Linked DNA regions of Homo sapiens: regions 1 and 2 are each linked to region 3. Evidence: promoter capture Hi-C in 16 types of primary human blood cells and fetal thymus (Javierre and others, 2016). All regions are on one chromosome and are shown on one strand. Each heading gives the region's core, a stretch centred on a gene start or on the middle of the fragment in contact. The rest is flanking DNA. Distances are from core to core; before and after follow the strand shown.

Region 1 (2,688 bases), core at 28-2,527, 240 kb after region 3:
CAATTTTACTCTTAAGGAATTTATCCTAGCAAAATAATTAAAACAGGCTTAAATTTTTCATTTTGTGAGTGTTCATTAAAATAATGCTTAAGAGTAATCCAAAACCGGAGGGGAAAATATTAATGCCTAAAATAGAGGACTGGTTGGTACAATTGTGGGCACATTCTTATATGAGCATATTACAGAGATTAAAACATGGGTGACTGACGTGGCAACGTAAGGAGTGCATTATTAAGCTGAGAAAAAGACAGGCTTACAAAACAAACCTGATAATCCCATTTCAGTGTGTGCACACATGCAGAAAATGAAGGGACACCAAAAAATTAGCCAGGTGTGGTAGCACACTCCTGCAGTCCCAGCTACTCAGGAGGCTGAGGCAGGAGGATCCCCTGCACCCGGGAGGTAGAGTTGCAGTGAGATCGCACCACTGCATCCCAGCCTGGGTGATGAGAGCAAGACTCTGTCTCAAAAAAAAAAAAAAGAAGAAAAGAAAAAAAGGAAGGAAGAGAAGAGTAGAAGAGAAGGGAAAAGAAGAAAAAAAAAAAGAAAGGAAAATGGAGGAAAACACCAAAATAGTACATGATTATCTCCAGATGATGGGATTATATGTGGTTTTTTTTCCCCTTATTTTTCTACAGTGTACATATGTCACTTTCATAATTCTTAAAAGCTTGAGCCATTATCTAAGGACAACACTGAAATAAATATACAGGTAAGACAAACTAGAAGAGAAATTCTGGCAGTCAACACCAGTGCTGAGAAAAAACACCCTATTGATATAGTCAGTGTGCTCCCGGAGAGAGCGCTGGGAGGGCTAGAGTTTCCTGGTAACCAGGAGCCTAAATTTATCATTCCTAAGGGCTTGCTGATGGCACCTGAGTAACTTAGGAAACCAAAGGTGTGGTCAAAAGGTAAGCGCTCTTCATACTCGGTAAACCTACTGTGTTCAGGGGTTCCTGATTTTCCTTAAATCCTTTTTATTCTTGGATCTCAACTCTTCCAAGGGCTGTCTTTATCTAACATTAGTTACTATACTTCTTCACATTTCCTAGATCTTCTTTATTTGAAAAAGAAATGAGACTCATTCATTGCAACCAAACTTTAACTTGTCAAAATTATAAACTGGCTGGGCCCAGTGGCTCACATTTGTAATCCCAGTACTTTGGGAGGCCAAGGCAGGCGTATCACTTGAGCCCAGAAGTTCGAGACCAGCCTGGGTAACACAGCAAAACCCCGTCTCTACAAAAAATTAGCCAGGTATGGTGGTGCATGCTTGTAGTCCCAGCTACCAGGCAAGCTGAAGAGGAAGCATCACCCTCAGCCGGGCGCGGTGGCTCAAGCCTGTAATCCCAGCACTTTGGGAGGCCAAGGGAGGCAGATCACTTGAGGTCAGGAGTTGGAGACCAGTGTGGCCAATGTGGAGAAACACCATCTCTACTAAGAATACAAAAATTAGCTGAGCGTGGTGGCATGCGCCTGTAATTCCAGCTACTCAGGAGGCTGGGGCAGGAGAATTGCTTGAACCTGGGAGGCAGAGGTTAAAGTGACCCAAGATTGTGCCACTGCACTCCACCCTGGGTGACTGAGTGAGACTCCATCTCAAAAAAAAAAAAAAAAAGGGAAGATCAGGAGATCAAGGCTGCGGTGAGCTATAATCATACCACCATACTCCAGCTTGGATAACAGAGGGAGACCCTGTCCCCTCCAAAAAAATAAAATTATAAGCTATAGAACGTATTTGTGATTCTTGGGTAAAAAAGAAAAATATACATATAGACTGGGGTAGGGGGCAGCAGGGGAGATCAATTTACTTGTTGAACTGGTTCATGTGCATTTTCCAGGCAACAGAAAATCTAAATTTGAAAGGAAAAAGGTGAGGAAGGGGAAGCTTTAGTAGCATCATTCAAGTGTGAGTATGTATTATTACATAGTCCCTGAAATAGAAGGGGCTTACATTATGAAATACTGAAAAATCCAAGAGCTTGGAAGTTGAAAACATATTGCTCAGTGGTAAGTAAAGCTATGTGGGGTTTAAACTGTGCTATCCAATGCGGGAGCCACCAGCCCCAGGTGGCTACTGAGCATCTTAAACGTGTTGGTCCAACTGGTATGTGCTATGAATGTAACATATACAATAGACTTCAAAGGGTTGCTATGAAAATAAAAAAGAATGCAAATATCTCATTAATAACTTTATATTGATTGTGTTGAAATACTATTTTTAATATATCAGCTTATAAAATATATTACTAAAATTAATTGTTCTTGTTTTCCTTTAATGTAGCTACCTCAAAATTACATATGTGACTTCCATTATAATGGTATTAGGCACTGCTAGTCTAAAATACGTGGATACCAGGGAAAGAGAAAATGCTATTTCAGTGCACACAACCAGGGTAATCATAAGATCACATCCTATGGATGTGTAAACTTTTGATAGTTTTACACACACACACACACACACACACACACACACACACACACACACACAGGCATGGCCATCTTTATCCAAACATCAAAGACAACCCTATTATTAATATCCTACACAGTCAGCTGGGCAGATTACATGATGGGGAGCAGGTGCCATAACCTAATTTTCCACACACAGAACTGAGAGGAGGGAAGGAAGCAGATATAAAAGAGACCAAAGCAGAAATCCAGAAGCAGAATCCAGTGCTAACGAGAAGC
Region 2 (2,774 bases), core at 76-2,575, 220 kb after region 3:
GCAGTAAGCCAAGATCCCACCACGGCACTCCAGTCTGGGTGACAGGGTGAGACTCTGTCTCGAGGAAAAAAAAAAAAAAGTTGTTAATAAGGTAGATCTCGTGTTAAATGTTCTTATCATAATAAAAATAAAAAAATAAAAAGAATGGTAGAAGATACTAGTTTTGAGTGAAAAAAGTTATTTCATAAGTGAAAAGAATTAAAAGCAATATATATAATGAAAAAGATAGTATGTACAGCATTAACCCACTGTGTATGTGTAAAGTATGTGGCCATGTATACACACACCAAAATGTTAACCAAAATGTTGAGTGATAGAAACACAAATGACTTATTTTCCTGTTTTTACTCCTCTATATTTTCTAAACTAACTTAACTACAAAAGATGGGCCCAATTTCACCCCTAAGAGCCTCATGGTGTCCACATTAGCACCAGTTCTTCCTTACTCCTCAGACTCAAGTCCAGGGGAAAGGCTGGTTCCCCTTACAGCATCTACCCCCTTTACAATGTAATGCAAGCAAATCAATTCAGTCCTTTCTGCTGTGAGCTCAGGATACAGCAGTGCGGAATAATGTCCTCATGTTTAAAGTTCTAAAATAACTTTGGGTTTCAGAAGAGAGTGGAGAAAAGCCAAGGTGCTACAAATTATACTTGGTATCTAGATTTCTTAAAGCTCCCTGCAGCCAAAGTTAAAAATCACTACCTTAAAGGAAGCAGGAAATCGCTACAGTCTCAAAAAAAAAAAAAAAAAAAAAGTCGCCTGGAAATAAATGTAAACCTGACAGATAAAAAAAATCAGCCATCTGGAAAATTCTGTTATGAGGAAGTAGAAAAGTAAAATAAAATATTTAGACGTGTAACAAATCTTCCAATTCCCTAAGGACTGAATCACTAGCTCTCCACCCACCAACAATCACGCACAAATGCAGAAGCTTTTAATCAGTACTTGTTTCATCAGCTATTCAGCCTGTAATGATTTCTTTTGAACTTCATTTTATCCGACCATCTCTCCCTGTCCAGGAAACAGAGTCACCCCTCTCACTGTGGCTTAGCAGGGCCACCTGAAGGAGAAATGTGATGGCACTGTCCAGAAGTTTTCAGAGCTGAGCTATTCGTGGAGTTAAATACCAAAACCTTCTGTGTTTCTCGAAAGAACCACCAAATCCTAAGAAAAACCTGTCCTTTCATGATCAGCACCTAGCAGAGTGAGCAGGTAACACAGAAACCCTCCAATGGCTGAATGAATTAATCACTAATAGTCTGCCCAAAGAGTAGAATCCCCCTATGTAAAATTCATCTTTAAGGCTGGGCACAGTGACTCCCAACGCTTTGGGAGGCCTAGTTGGGAAGATTGCTTGAGGCCAAGAGTTCGAGATCAGCCTGAGCAACATAGCGAGACTCTGACTCTACAAAAAATAAAACATAAAATTCATCTTTATATTCCCAGCTCCTAGTACAGAATAGACAGATGCTCTTTACAAGGAAGTACACAGGGCGGGGGGTGGGGCGGTGTGGAGAAGATAGATGTTCCATAAATGCTAATGAAATTTACATTTACTCCAAGTAGACGGCACTGAATAAATACTATATCAGAAATATAAATCCATGGCAAATCCATCATTTGCTCTAGACAAAAACCCACACTTCTCCAAAAGGATACGAGAGAGAGGAAGAGCCAGAATAAGAATCAGTGGCTCATGTGCTTAAGACTCACATGGGAAGCTTATTTAAAATATACACTTCTGGGCCAGGCACGGTGGATCACACCTGCAATCCCAGCACTTTGGGAGGCTGAGGCAGGCGGATCGCTTGAGCCCAGGAGTTCAAGACCAGCCTGGGCAACGTGACGAAACCCCATTTCTACCAAAAAAAAAAAACAGAAAAATTAGCCAGGCATGGTGGTATCCGCCTGTAGTCCCAGTTATTTAGGAGACTGAGGTGGGAGGATGGCTTGAGTCCAGAAGGTAAAGGTTGCAGTGAGCTGAGACTGCACGACTACACTCCAGCCCAGGCAACAGAGTCAGACTCTGTCTCAAAAAAAAAAAAAAAAAGACAGATTTCTTTCACACAAATACATGTAAGACAAAAATTTGACACTGTTTTATTTATAACAGCCCCAAACTAGAAACATCCAAAGAGCCATCAAGAGGTGGACGGGTAAGCAAATCATGGTGGGTCCATCAAAAGGCATGCTAGTTAGCAACAAACCAGAGAGCGTCTGCTGACGTGCCCGACAGCACAAGGGAGCTGCACAGACATTTCGTTAAAGCAGCCAGACACGAGACATGCAGTCTGATTCTCAAAAGACAAACCATTCTACGGGAAGCGGAGAGTGGTTACCTAGGGCAAGAATGGAGGAAAGGGCTCCCCAGGGAAAGGATGGAACCTTTGGAATGATAGAAATCTACTGTTTTGACTGTGATTCTGGTGGCTCCATTTGGATGTATATCCACTTGCTCTATGTAAACACTATCGCAATAAAATTGACTTTAGAAGACTAAAAGAATTAAAAAACCCTGTAATCCCACCAATTTTAAAAATGTCCCCTCCTCATATTCTAATCCTATAGACCTACCTTGGGGGCTTGGGAACCTGTATTTTTGTTTGTTTGTTTGTTGAGATGGAGTCTTGCTCCGTCGCCCAGGCTGGAGTGCAGTGGTGCAGTCTCAGCTCACTGCAACCTCCACCTCCCGGGTTCAAACAACTCTCTGCCTCAGCCTCCCAAGCAGCTGGGATTACAGGTGTGCCCCACCACACCCGGCTAATTTTTGTAT
Region 3 (2,734 bases), core at 87-2,586:
ATTGTCCTGACATTTGTCTCTGGGTACTGAACTATTAGGAGATTTTGATTTTTTCATCTCCATTTTGCAAACAGTCTGTACTAAGATTACACTACTGTGTTTCTGTTTTGTGTGTATTCAGAAGCACAAAAAGTCTGTGGTTCTAGAAAGGAAATAGAAAAGTTCTTAAAAAAAAAAAAGTGGGGAAGTGAAACAAATGTTAAAGTCAGAGGAGAAAGAAAGGCCCAACCGGAGGCCCCAAATCCACCCAGAGCCCAGAAGCCCGGGTTTCCCACCGACCGGCTGCGGTCTTTGTCAGCTCTCTGGCGCTATCTGCTGTCCTTCTCGATAACAACCGTTTAATTTGGTTTGCAAAATTGCTCTGACGCAAATCCACCGTGAACACTGACGGGGTCACATTCAGCATAAAAATCGCATTCTGTTTACAGGAAAATCTGGCCCCATACTTGCTCCCATATTCACTTTTGACTTTGCCTTGCAGTACTAACTGTAACAGGGACACCTGAGCAAGTCCCTTCTGTATAAGGCCCAAAATGGTCACCCAATACCAATGAGTCTCTTGCTTTGGAAAGCCCAGGAATGCACCTCCAGCCCCTTCTGCGCAGCGCTCGGACACCATGTAGAGGAGAAGGCACTCTGCAGAACTCGCCCTCAGCCCGCACCACCTGTCCAGGGGACTGGCTGCGTGTCAATGTGTCTCTGCTCCCGGGGTTCCCGCAGATCTTTAACTTATTGGCCTTTGGGCTAATTCAGTCCTTCAAGCATTCCTCGCCCAACATGCCAGGAAGTCTTCTCACGTGTCTTCCACCCCATACCTACCAGTTCTGTTTTCCCACTACCCGATGAAAGTGTAACCGCCCCCCGGCGCCCCCCCCCCCCACCACCACACACACACCCTGTTGGTCCCATCCTCAGGGCGTGGTGGTCCAGGTGAACGCTTGCCCTCTTTTTGAGCTGAACCTCCCCACAGAGGCTGTCAGCAAAGACTGCTTTGCTGTCCAAGGCCGGCCTTTAGGTACAGGACACTATGCATGTCCAGCGAGGCTTGTTGAAGCCACATCTGTCATAGATATTGATGGGAAAAGCATTTTCCTTCTAACACATCTCATTCCAATTCTAAAAGGCACCTCTGAAGCCTTGCTGAACTTCATCAAGATTTTCACGTGGTTTCCTTAGTAAAGTGTGATGAGAAGGTCCATCCTTCTCAGGATGAAGGAGTGGTCCAGGAAGCCCTGATTGGTCTGCCGGGGAGGGAAGGGCTGCCTTATTTGGAGACCTGCAGGAATGCCACCTCCCCCGGCAGCTCCTATATAGCTGGGCGGACCTGGCTGCCAAGAGGGTGTGCTGGGGGACTGTGCAGCTCGAGGCTCCAGAGGCACACTCCAGAGAGAGCCAAGGTACGTGGGGGGCCACTTCTGTGGTCAGGACTGCTGGTTTCTTATCAAGGCTCGATCCCAGATTGAAAATCATGCAATGATTTCTTTACTCCCACACCTGGGGATGGGTCCCAAGTTCAGGGTAGACTTGCGAGGATACCCAGTCATCACTGGGCTTGCCTTTCTCTAAGTTGGTGCTATAATAAAATGCTACTTTAGGGTTTGTGGGTTGGGATTTTGTTTTGCCTTTAAGCTTCTGCCTATGAAAACTAATCTCTTTCTCAAGAATGCTGTGCTTTTATTTTTTTTATTTGACTCACCTGAAATGATCTATTATGCCATTAATCTTATTTAAGATTTCTCCTTAAAAAAGGAATGATGTGGAGTATGGCCCTATTTAGGAGACTAATGAATATTTGCTTCATGCTTGGATCTCTTTGGAGAAAGTCAGTCTGAGTTCACTGTGCTCAGGAGGCAGAGAGAGTGGGGTGAGGGGGTCCAGATGCTCATAGCCACCCTGGGACAAAGACGAGGCGATGTCTACAAGCAAGGAAAGGTCAGTGAGGCCTCTTTGCAGGCTTCTAGAGATGACTGGATGTGCTTCTAGAGATCACTTCAGCTGTGTTTTGCCTTTTTTTTTTAATATAAGGAGCAATGTGGCATCAGAGTTGAACATTTTATCAGAGGAACATTAGCCACTTTTAGGGAAGCTGCAGCAGGGTGGTGGAGGGTGTGTGAGGGGCGAAACAAGCTCCCTGTCAGCCTCCTCCAGCTCTGGGGCCCCATGGCCTCACAGTAAGTCTTTGCCTAGGAGACAGCTTAGGCAAGCTCCGGTATGGGAACTCCTTCCATTTCCCTAATCCACACAGGCAAAGACCCAGGTGCTAGAATGCCCTGACAGTCGGCCTTGGGAAGTGGATTTCCTTGATGGCTATTGTAGATTCAGGAGCCGAATGTGACAGGCAACCTTAAGGTGTGGGGTGAGGGGCTTTTCCATGACATCAGTGGCAGCCCTTCGGATGTCCCAGGGCCACCTTGACCCGGGACCCTCCTGGTGTTCCCCCAGGCCCTCCTGTCTTCCCTTTCATCTCGTTTTCTCCGAAATTCCTCAAGGGCCCTGCCCTTTGCCCTTTGCCCAGCTCAGGGGGCATCATACCCAGTGAGTGAAAAGCACAGTGTGTGAGCACTGTCTTCTCCTGAAACCCAGATGGGCAGTGGGGCATGGCTAGTGGACACATGCAGTGCAGCATTAGACAGAGCCCAGTGCAGGTCTGCCACCTCCCCGCTGTGCAGCCTTGGGCAAATTACTTAACTTCTCTGAATCCCAGGACAACATTTATAACATGGGGATAATAATG

Evidence for each region. The method cuts DNA at HindIII sites, captures the fragments that hold promoters and counts their contacts. A CHiCAGO score of 5 or more calls a contact.
Region 1: a fragment that was not itself captured here is called in contact with the fragment with the promoter of PRND in region 3 in 1 of 17 cell types (naive B cells); the score reaches 5.2 in naive B cells.
Region 2: a contact is called between a fragment that was not itself captured here and the fragment with the promoter of PRND in region 3, in 1 of 17 cell types (total B cells). The highest score is 5.5, in total B cells.

Annotation. Positions count from the first base shown.
Region 1 is chr20:4,964,366-4,967,053 of GRCh38, forward strand. All of the region lies in intron 2 of SLC23A2 (solute carrier family 23 member 2), which reads right to left. Among named protein-coding and RNA genes, the nearest start is that of SLC23A2, 36 kb to the right of the region's middle. The HindIII fragment of the contact is 1,218 bases long and covers 669-1,886 here.
Region 2 is chr20:4,941,641-4,944,414 of GRCh38, forward strand. The region is part of intron 2 of SLC23A2 (solute carrier family 23 member 2); the gene reads right to left. Among named protein-coding and RNA genes, the nearest start is that of SLC23A2, 58 kb to the right of the region's middle. The HindIII fragment of the contact is 790 bases long and covers 931-1,720 here.
Region 3 is chr20:4,720,573-4,723,306 of GRCh38, forward strand. PRND (prion like protein doppel) reads left to right here and starts at 1,337. Exons shown (of 2, transcript NM_012409.4): 1 at 1,337-1,397. RefSeq lists an enhancer at 40-259. The HindIII fragment of the contact is 8,148 bases long and covers 1-1,627 here.